2 separate regions of the Homo sapiens genome follow, and region 1 is linked to region 2. The links are contacts of gene promoters, found by promoter capture Hi-C in blood cells and fetal thymus (Javierre and others, 2016). All regions are on one chromosome and are shown on one strand. Each heading gives the region's core, a stretch centred on a gene start or on the middle of the fragment in contact. The rest is flanking DNA. Distances are from core to core; before and after follow the strand shown. Region 1 overlaps C9orf152 (chromosome 9 open reading frame 152). Region 2 holds the start of PALM2AKAP2 (PALM2 and AKAP2 fusion).

Evidence for each region. The method cuts DNA at HindIII sites, captures the fragments that hold promoters and counts their contacts. A CHiCAGO score of 5 or more calls a contact.
Region 1: a contact is called between a fragment that was not itself captured here and the fragment with the promoter of PALM2AKAP2 in region 2, in 1 of 17 cell types (total B cells). The highest score is 5.4, in total B cells.

What each region holds. Positions count from the first base shown.
Region 1 is chr9:110,197,863-110,202,509 of GRCh38, forward strand. It overlaps C9orf152 (chromosome 9 open reading frame 152), which reads right to left. Exons shown (of 2, transcript NM_001012993.3): 2 at 1,699-3,612. The coding sequence ends at 3,086. Among named protein-coding and RNA genes, the nearest start is that of C9orf152, 8.0 kb to the right of the region's middle. The HindIII fragment of the contact is 196 bases long and covers 1,818-2,013 here.
Region 2 is chr9:109,777,468-109,781,854 of GRCh38, forward strand. It overlaps PALM2AKAP2 (PALM2 and AKAP2 fusion), which reads left to right and starts at 2,731. Exons shown (of 11, transcript NM_007203.5): 1 at 2,731-3,066. The coding sequence starts at 3,022. The HindIII fragment of the contact is 7,761 bases long and covers 1-4,387 here.

The DNA.
Region 1 (4,647 bases), core at 666-3,165, 420 kb after region 2:
GGCATCAATCAAGGCTGTGCTGGGAGGAGGTGGAGCCTGGTAGACTCTGACTTGACTATGAGATGAACTTTAACATTTGAACAGTTCCAAGCTTTAACAACTGAAATGAATGGCTTTAATGTCAGGAAGTGACTGAAAAGTTAGGGAATCTGACTGAGATAGTGTGAGGGCAGCCTGTCCCCTAGTGGGGAAGAGGCTGTTCGATCCAGCTGAATTGGTTCTTGGAAAAGAACTTTTCTGTTCCTAGCTTAGGGAAAACGTCTCTCCTCTGCGTCCCTCACCACCCCAGGGAAGATTATCGCCTTCAGTTAAACTGGGAAATCTGTGGCTCTGAGATTTGGCTCTGAAATCTCTGGCTTTAATTCACCCAACAAAGGTCACACCTCTACCAATGGCAGTGCCCAGACTAGAGCCTGATCCGTCCTCCTCTGCCAGGGGAGACTGAGGCATGGTGTGTGCCAGGCAGCCACATGGGGAGTCCACACTGGGAAGTGGAAGCCTGGGGAACCCTAGGTAAAGGTGGCCTGCCTGATGCAGGATTTACAATGTGAGCTGGTTTTTCTCTATCTTAGGAAGAGAAGAGGAAAACTTTCTGCTAATGTTATCGGTGGAGGCCATCCAGGCTCTTGGCATTTTGAACAAAGACTTGGCCAACCAGCTGGCCGTGTGGCCTAATGGATAAGGCGTCTGACTTCGGATCAAAAGATTGCAGGTTTGAGTTCTGCCACGGTCGTGGAGGGGTTATATTTTGTTGGGTGCGGTGGCTTATGCCTGTAATCCCAGCATCTTGGGAGGCCGAGGAAAGCGGATCACCTGAGGTCGGGAGTTTGAGGCCAGCCTGGCCAACATGGAGAAACCCCATCTCTACTAAAAATACAAAATTAGCCGGGCGTGGTGGCGCATGCCTGTAATCCCAGCTACTCGGTAGGCTCAGGCAGGAGAATCACTTGAACCTGGGAGGCAGAGGTTGCGGTGAGCTGAGATCACACTGTTACACTCCAGCCTGGGCAACAAGAGCAAAACTCTGTCTCAAAAAAAAAAAAAAAAAAAAAAAAAGGGCCGGGTGTGGTGGCTCACACCTGTAATCCCAGCACTTTGGGAGGCCAAGGCAGGCAACATGGTGAAACCCTGTCTCTACAAAAAAACCACAAAAATTAGCCAGGCATGATGGTGCACACCTGTAACCCCAGCTACCGGGGAGGCTGAGGTGGGAGAATCGCTTAAAGCTGGGTGGTGGAGGTTGCAGTGAGCTGAGATTGTGCCACTGTACTCCAGCCTGAGAGGCAGAGCAAGACTCCATCTCAAAAAAAAAAAAAAAAAAAGATGTAATTATTGGCTGGGTGTGGTGGCTCACACCTGTAATCCCAGCACTTTGGGAGGCCAAGGCAGGCAGATCACCCGAGGTCAGGAGTCCGAGACCAGCCTGGCCAACATGGTGAAACCCCGTTTCTACTAAAAATACAAAAAATTAACTGGGGTAGTGGTACACGCCCATAATCCCAGCTACTTGGGAGGCTGAGGCAAGAGAATGGCTTGAACCTGGGAGGCAGAGGTTGCAGTGAGCCGGGATTGCACCACTGCACTCCAGCCTGGGTAACAGAGCAAGACTCCATCTCCAAAAACAGGAAACAAAAGCAAACCTATAGAAAGATACGTTACTTGTGGGACACTTCTTTAAAAACAAAAGCAAAGGACAAATTTTTTTGAGAAAATTTCCTTTTTTATTAGAATATTTAAAAAACAACTGAATTGTATTAATTATTCACAAAAGGAATGACAATCCCCAAATTTGAGTGGATTTCTGGGTGGTTCAAGGAAGCTTCTACATGTTTTTCACAGGTAATGACACTACTAGTTAACAGCTCTGGATGTAGATGGGCAAGACTGGACGGCCATGCAGAGAAAAGAAAGGTGGGAGTGAAACTTTACAGAGAAAGCACCTGAGATGAGGGAAAGGCACCTTAGGTGTGTTTAAATAGCATTACAAAAGCTAAACATTAACCAGGAAATACAAGCTTTTTTCCCTATCACCCAAGTGACACCTGCTTCGCTTTGTCTTAGGTTTAAAAATATATTTGATCCCAGGAAGGATCTGAGTGATCTAAGTTGGACTAAACAGGAGGCAGTCTATAGGGAATGTGTATTTTTCAAGTAGGAGCATTTCTTTGCCTCTTTTGTTCAGGATCTCATCATTATATATCGTCAATGATTGGCAGTTTTTAATAAGAACTTAATTTGCAGAGAGAGAGAGAGAGAAAAGATAGGCAGGAAGGCAGGAAAGAAGGCAAGAAGGAAGAGAGGAAAGAAAGAAGGAAAGAAGGGAGGAAGGGAGGGAGGGAGGGAGAGACAGAAGGAAGGAAGGAAGGAAGGAAGGAAGGAAGGAAGGAGATAACTCTGTGATGATGCTGGAATGTACATGTCTCAGTGAGCAGTGACAGATGATTAGCCCTTTCTAAAGACCCCTTAAAGACACAAAATGGTAGGTAGCATTGATCTCACCTTCATACCCTGGGTGACCATACTTTGGGAAGCCCAAATTGAAATGATGTGATCACTGCCAATGAGTGTTGTGACTTCTAAGTGAGATGGCCCCCCAGACATAGCCACCAGAAAAAGCATCTGAATTCTCAGAGCTTGTCTTCTCCAGAATATATGAGAAATCATCAGAAGACATTGAAAACAAGAATGCCACGCCCATTGACCCCTGGGCATTGCTAAGGCATTCTGTTGGCTAGGTCCCTGGTTTATGTTCCAAAATTATCCAGTTCCAGGGATGGAGCAGATGTCTTACTGGTCCTCCCCAAGGAATGGATATCCAGGACCTCATAGTAATGTCAGAATGGGGCTGCACTGACCAGACAGTCCTCTTCATCCTAAACTGTGGGCAATTTGGCCTGGGAAGTCTCTTCTTATTGGAAGGGTAAAACCATGTTACCATTGTGAAGTTCGTCTCCCACAATTCCTATAATTAGGTTAGTCCAGTTCTTGCTCATAGCTAGAGACCTCGTTGTGGCTCTGCCTCCTTGGTTCTTCTATAAGGCCATAGGTGGCCTCAAGGTCAAGACATCTGGCAGAATAGAAAGCTTCACGCTGAGCCATATAAGCCCAGGTTCCGGGCAGCTTGGGAGATCCTGGGTGTTTTCCTCTGGGGAAATGGATAGTAAGCTGGTTTGCCAGACCTGTGTGGGTTCTTTATGGAAAGAGGACATTGAGTGCTGAATTTTAAGCCAGATTCCACTGCCTTTGTTTGGGTATTGCCCACCTGGCATGGAAGCTGGGCAGCCTCTGGGATTCCGGTTCCTTGCTGAGTCATCTGATTGGTTTCAAACAAGTGTGTGTCTCCTTCAGGAGGGAGCCTTTGATCAGATCCCACAAGCTTGCCCCTATGATGTACTTGATGACTGGTGTCCTGGGGGGAGGTTTGGACCAAACAATGCATCTCCAGGTGCGTGTGCCATGGAGACTTGGGGGCCTGAAGGCAGCCCTGGGCAGCCTCCTCCAGCCTCCCCTCCACCTCAGAATCTGCCTCTTCCAGGGACAGTGAGCTTCTTCTCTCCTTGTTAATCCAAACAGCATTGACCATCGATTCTGCAGGAGCAGGTGTGTTTCCTCCTGAAAAGAGAATGCACCAGCAGGGTCATCACTGGAAGGGACAGGGGCGGCTCTCACTTAGGGGGTCTCATTGCTTTCAAGCTGAAGGAAGGCCATCCCCAGAAGGTTCCTGGTACATTTCATGTGTGTACATGTGTACACACACAAGATCTCACTTGCATGCTCACACACATGCCCTTTTACACCTCACCCATATATACTCACACACACACAATTATTCATTCATTCAACACATATTTATTGAGCACTTAATATGTGCCAGGCATTATTTATTCTAGGTCCTGGGAATACAGCAATGAACATTGAGACAAAACCCACACCTTCCGGGGTGTGTCCTGGTTGAGTAGAGACAAAATTGCATATTTATAATAAAATTTCGGGTGGCAATCAATGCAATGGAAAATCTCAAGCATAATAGAGGGTCAAACACTGAAGTGGAGGAGTAAACTCTGGGAGGAGATAGGGAACTAGCGTTTGGGGCTAAAAGAAAGGCAAGGAACAAGAGCACACACAGACTCACACACATGTGGGTTCACATATTCTCACCAGTGGAAAAGATTATTCTTAACTTACGGGGTTTTGTGTTCTGGGATTCTTTTTGTTTGTTTGTTTGTTTGTTTTTTTGAGACAGAGTCTCACTCTGTTGCCCAGGCTGGAGTACAGTGGTGCAATCTTGGCTCACTGCAACCTCCACCTCCTGGGTTCAAGCGATTCTCCTGCCTCAGCCTCCTGAGTAGCTGGGATTACAAGGCACCTGCCACCATGCCTGACTACTTTTTGTATTTTTAGTAGAGACATGATTTTCACCATGTTGGCCAGGCTGGTCTTGAACTCCTGACCTCAAGTGATCCGCCCGCCTCAGACTCCCAAAGTGTTGGGATTACAGGCGTGAGCCACTGCGCTCGGCTGTGTCCTGGGATTCTGATAGTGAGTTTACCACCCAAGGCAGAAGAGGGAGGAGTTGTGTTTTGAAGCAGCTCCCTTTAGAGAACCAATCATTATCCTTCTCCTAGTCCACAGGCACTGCTCTGGGAG
Region 2 (4,387 bases), core at 1,481-3,980:
ATGGGCTATGTTCCTGTTCTCCACCTTCATCTTTCACATCTGAAGAGCTGAAAGAAGCAGTTTGTACTCATGGTTGCTTCTCTGATCTCTCGCTCATCCCCATTTTTGTTTGTTTTATTTTCAACATTCACTTGGTAGCAGTCATTCCTCACCTCTTGTAAGTGCTTCCAAGCTCATCTTCTGGACACAAGTCACTCATGGCTTACTGACAGCCCTCCAATGGTCTCTTCTTCATCTGCATCCCCCATGACCTTTCAGAAGCATATGACCCTGTTGAAAACCTCTTTCCTTCTTTGTGGCTTTTGGTGCAAATCCCTTTGAATTTTTCCTTCTACTTCTCGGATGATACTTTATCAGTCTTCTTTGCTGGGCTCTCTCCTCTTCTTGCTCTGTTTTCTCATCCTGGCTGTTCTCATTTCTTTAGCTGTAACCGCAAAGTAGATGACACTTGGATGTGTGTCCCCAACCCCGATTCTTCTATTCAGAGTTCAGATATTTCCAACTGATCACTTCCAAAGGGTGCCCAGGCCCTTTTCCTTCTCCATCTCCCCATTCCATCACTCCTTTTAAAAATTTATTGCGGTTAAAAATACAAAACTTAAAATTTACCATTTCAACCACTTTTAAGCATATGGTTTGATGACAGTAAGTACATTCACACTGTTGTGCTCAATCATACCTTTTAAATATCTGTATAGCTGGGAGTAGAAGGACCATTTCTGGTTCAATTGTTTATTCCTGGGGCCTGCTTCTATCTCCATATCATTGGCCAAGCCTGGTGCTTAATGGTTAAGAGCATGGGCTCTGGTGAGTGTGATCTGAGTTTAAATCCCAGCTCTATAACTGTAGCTGAGTCTTTCAACCTCTCTGGTCTCATTTTCCTCATCTTAGTATTCTCTACAATCACTCTGCTGAAGCAATAACAGCTTTGTTTATTTGTGAGCAAACCCCTTTAAATAACTTGTCCTGCTGGGGCTTGTGCTGGAAATGAAGAAAAAAGGATGCATTTGAAGAAAAGGATGGGCTTAGCCAGAAAGTAGAAGTTTCTGATATATTGGAGTGGGATGTAGAATCTGGCACTGGCTTGGATTTATTAAACAATCAGCTCCACCTACACTTGTTATGAAAAAGATGGGAAAACAATCCATCAGTAAACGATTTTGGTGAGTGCTTCCATCTTTGGTCAGAGGAGTAATTGTTCATCAGTGACAGGTGAACCTCTGTGAAAATTGAAAGGGCAATTTAGTTGAAATGGAAGCATTTATTCAGGAAACAGGTGATCTGGGAAAATTTGATGTGCATTTTTTTTTTTTTTTTTGAGACAGAGTTTCACTCTTGTTGCCCAGGCTGGAGTGCAATGATGTGATCTCGGCTCACTGCAACCTCTGCCTCCCAGGTTCCAGTGATTCTCCTGCCTCGGCTTCCCAAGTAGCTGGGATTACAGGTGCCTGCCACCACGCCCGGCTAATTTTTTGTATTTTTAGTAGAGAAGGGGTTTCACCATGTTGGCCAGGCTGGTCTCGAACTCCTGACCTTAGGTGATCCACCCGCCTTGGCCTCCCAAAGTGCTGGGATTACAGGTGTGAGCCACCGCATCTGGCCTGATGTGTATATCTTTTAACATGCCTTTAAATCCTATGGCTCTAAAGAGGCCATATTAGTTATTTCAGTGTTTATTTCATTTGATGAAGAAACGTTTGCATATGAATGTTGGGAATTCTAGCAGGTCCTGCCTCAATGTGAAGAGGCATTTTTTTTTGCTTTTGGCATTGATCTCCTTTTGGACTGGGCCTGATCCACTTCTTACATCCAGTCCAGGACCTGTCACAAAAGACTCACATTAGTACCACATGGTATCCTGTTTTAGTAAAGAATAGGTGAAATATTTTAGTGAGTAGATCCTACTTTTCCTTTCAGATGCAATGAACAGAAGACCCTGAAAGGATTTCAATCCAGAATGTCACAGGATAATAAGAGCAGATGTCTGTGATGCCCTTTACAAAGCACCTTTACATACTGTCTCTCATTCGTCTCTAATGACACCTATGTGATCCTCCATTTTTTCAGATGAGGAAACTGAGGTTCAGAGTGATTAAGCGAGTTGCCTGAGATTTCACAGCTAACACATTGTGAAATCTAGTCTAGCACCCAGGACTAAAAACTCTCGGCTTCTTTTAAGGCCACATATCGCCTCACCAGAAGGGTGGCCTCTCTGGAGATATACCCTACCCTCGGCCGACTTGATATTGAGAACTTGGTCATCTTAAGCATGTGGGCCACTTGGGCAAGGCAGCCCTTCCCAAATTGTAAATGTCCCCACGTGGAGCTCAAGCGTCTGGCTTGAGCCAGAAGGTGCCCTGAACACTCGGTGGCCCCAGCCCCCACGTAACAGCACGTGCTCGGGTCCCACATTCGGTCAGACGCCCCTCTCCACTGGCATCTGCCCGGTGGAGGCGCCACTGCGCTCTGCCTCCGCCCCAGCAAGCGCGTGTCCACGCGGGCGCGCCACGCCAGCCGTGCGCCCCAGCGGCTCGCCGTGCGCCCGCGCCCCAGGTGCCCACTGGCTCGCGCGCCCTCCGTCTGCGCCTTGGAGACCCGCGGCGGCGATCGCTCGGAGCCGCCTTGGACCGCGGCCTCGGGTCCATCACACTCCAGGGGCGGAGCGAGGCACCGAGACGTCAGGGCGGAGAACTAGCGCCGGGCTAGCGCGCCCTCCCGGCGGCTGCCGGCGTCCCACGTCCTCGGCTGGCGCGGCCGGCGGCGGCGGCGACCGGGAGATGCAGTGAGCGGCGGCGCTGGGGCGCAGCCAGGCGGCCGGGAGGGCGGGGGCCAGAGGCTGAGCCCGGGCGAGCCCGCCGTGCGCACAGCTCTGCCCGCCGCCCCTGGAGCGGATCCCCAGCCGTCCCTGGGCGTTCTCCCGGGTTCTAGCAAAGCCCCCCGGGGTGCCCATCAGTTTCCTTGGGTGACTACAGCGTGTGTTTTTTCTTTCCTCTTTCCCCTGCCTGTGTGCCCTTCTCCAGGATGGCAGAGGCGGAATTGCACAAGGAAAGGCTGCAAGCCATAGCAGTAAGTCCACTTTCATTTTATTTTCTTGCTCTATTGTCTGGGGTGGAAGGGGGCCCCCGAGGGTTTCGGGGCAAGCGGCATGCCAGCACAGTAGCCGCAGGTCATATGTTCCAGGGGCTAAAACTCTGTCAGGGCTCAGCTAGGCTGCCTTTTCTTTTCTATGTCTATAGATGGAGACCCCCAAGGGCGCGCTTTGGACTGAGGATTTGAATGTGGAAGATTGGCTTAAAAAAAGATGCTTGCTGCTGGGCTTTGGGGAAGGACTAAACAGAGGCTTGGGGTGGGGGGACGACTCCAGGAATATTATGACCGAATGCTCAGGCATACGTTGGCTTCATAGCCTGGAGAACCAAGAGAAGGGTGACCTGAACGGTGGCTGCCATCCTCTCTGCGGAAGCTGTCCTCCTGTTAAGTGGAAAACCAGGAGTCAGCGACTCAGCCAGCCACGCGGTAGAACCTCCTCCCAGAAACCGGGAATGTTAGTTTTCCCTTCTCTGTTTGATATTGACAAGGGCACTGGCACAAGCCACCACCCTGGAGGTCTGGGGACTTCATACAACTGGGTCCTGGTTATAATATTCCATGAGAGCCTCCTTCTTATGGTGTGGAGTATCTGAAAACCTATTTTCAGCCTACAAAGGAGTAGTCAGTTTTGGCAAAGTTCGTAGGCACTTTCAGAAAAGTGTACCCATGTGCATCTTGGGTTTAAAAAAGAACTCTCTGAGACTGCCTAGATTTGAGCAATCTTAACACAGTGTTGCCAATGATCCACAGATGTGGTATTTTTACTGGAGCCACCACAGCTGGATTATATATTTCCTTCGAGGATGAGGGAATGATTACTGCTGCCGTATGAAATAGTAACAATTAAAAAAGAAGGTCCGTTAACATATTGGCATAAAAGAATCTCCAGACATTCTTCCACCTAAATACATTTGTGTTTTTCAGTTCGGAAGTTCTCTGGAAACACATATAAATTTGTTGGAGAAATAGTGTGTAATGTTTTGGAACCAAAGTATATTAAAGCGTTTTCCAAAACCTTTTTGGACAGATTCTTCATTGGGAAAATGCACACAGACCCTTCCTTTTTTAGAAGCATTTGACATGGTCTCCAAGGCTCTGAGACCCTCTTTCTCAAACGCCTCAAATCTGAAATGTCTTGGAGACTTCACCACTGAAGTGAGAGAGATGTTTGCTGGCAATATTGAAATGCCATGGTTTGCCTATTAGGTAATCTTTGAACGTGGTGCTCTGAACTCAGAAAGGTTGTTTTTTTCTTCTTTCTCTTTCCCCCTGTGCATGTGTATTTTGATGGTTTGTG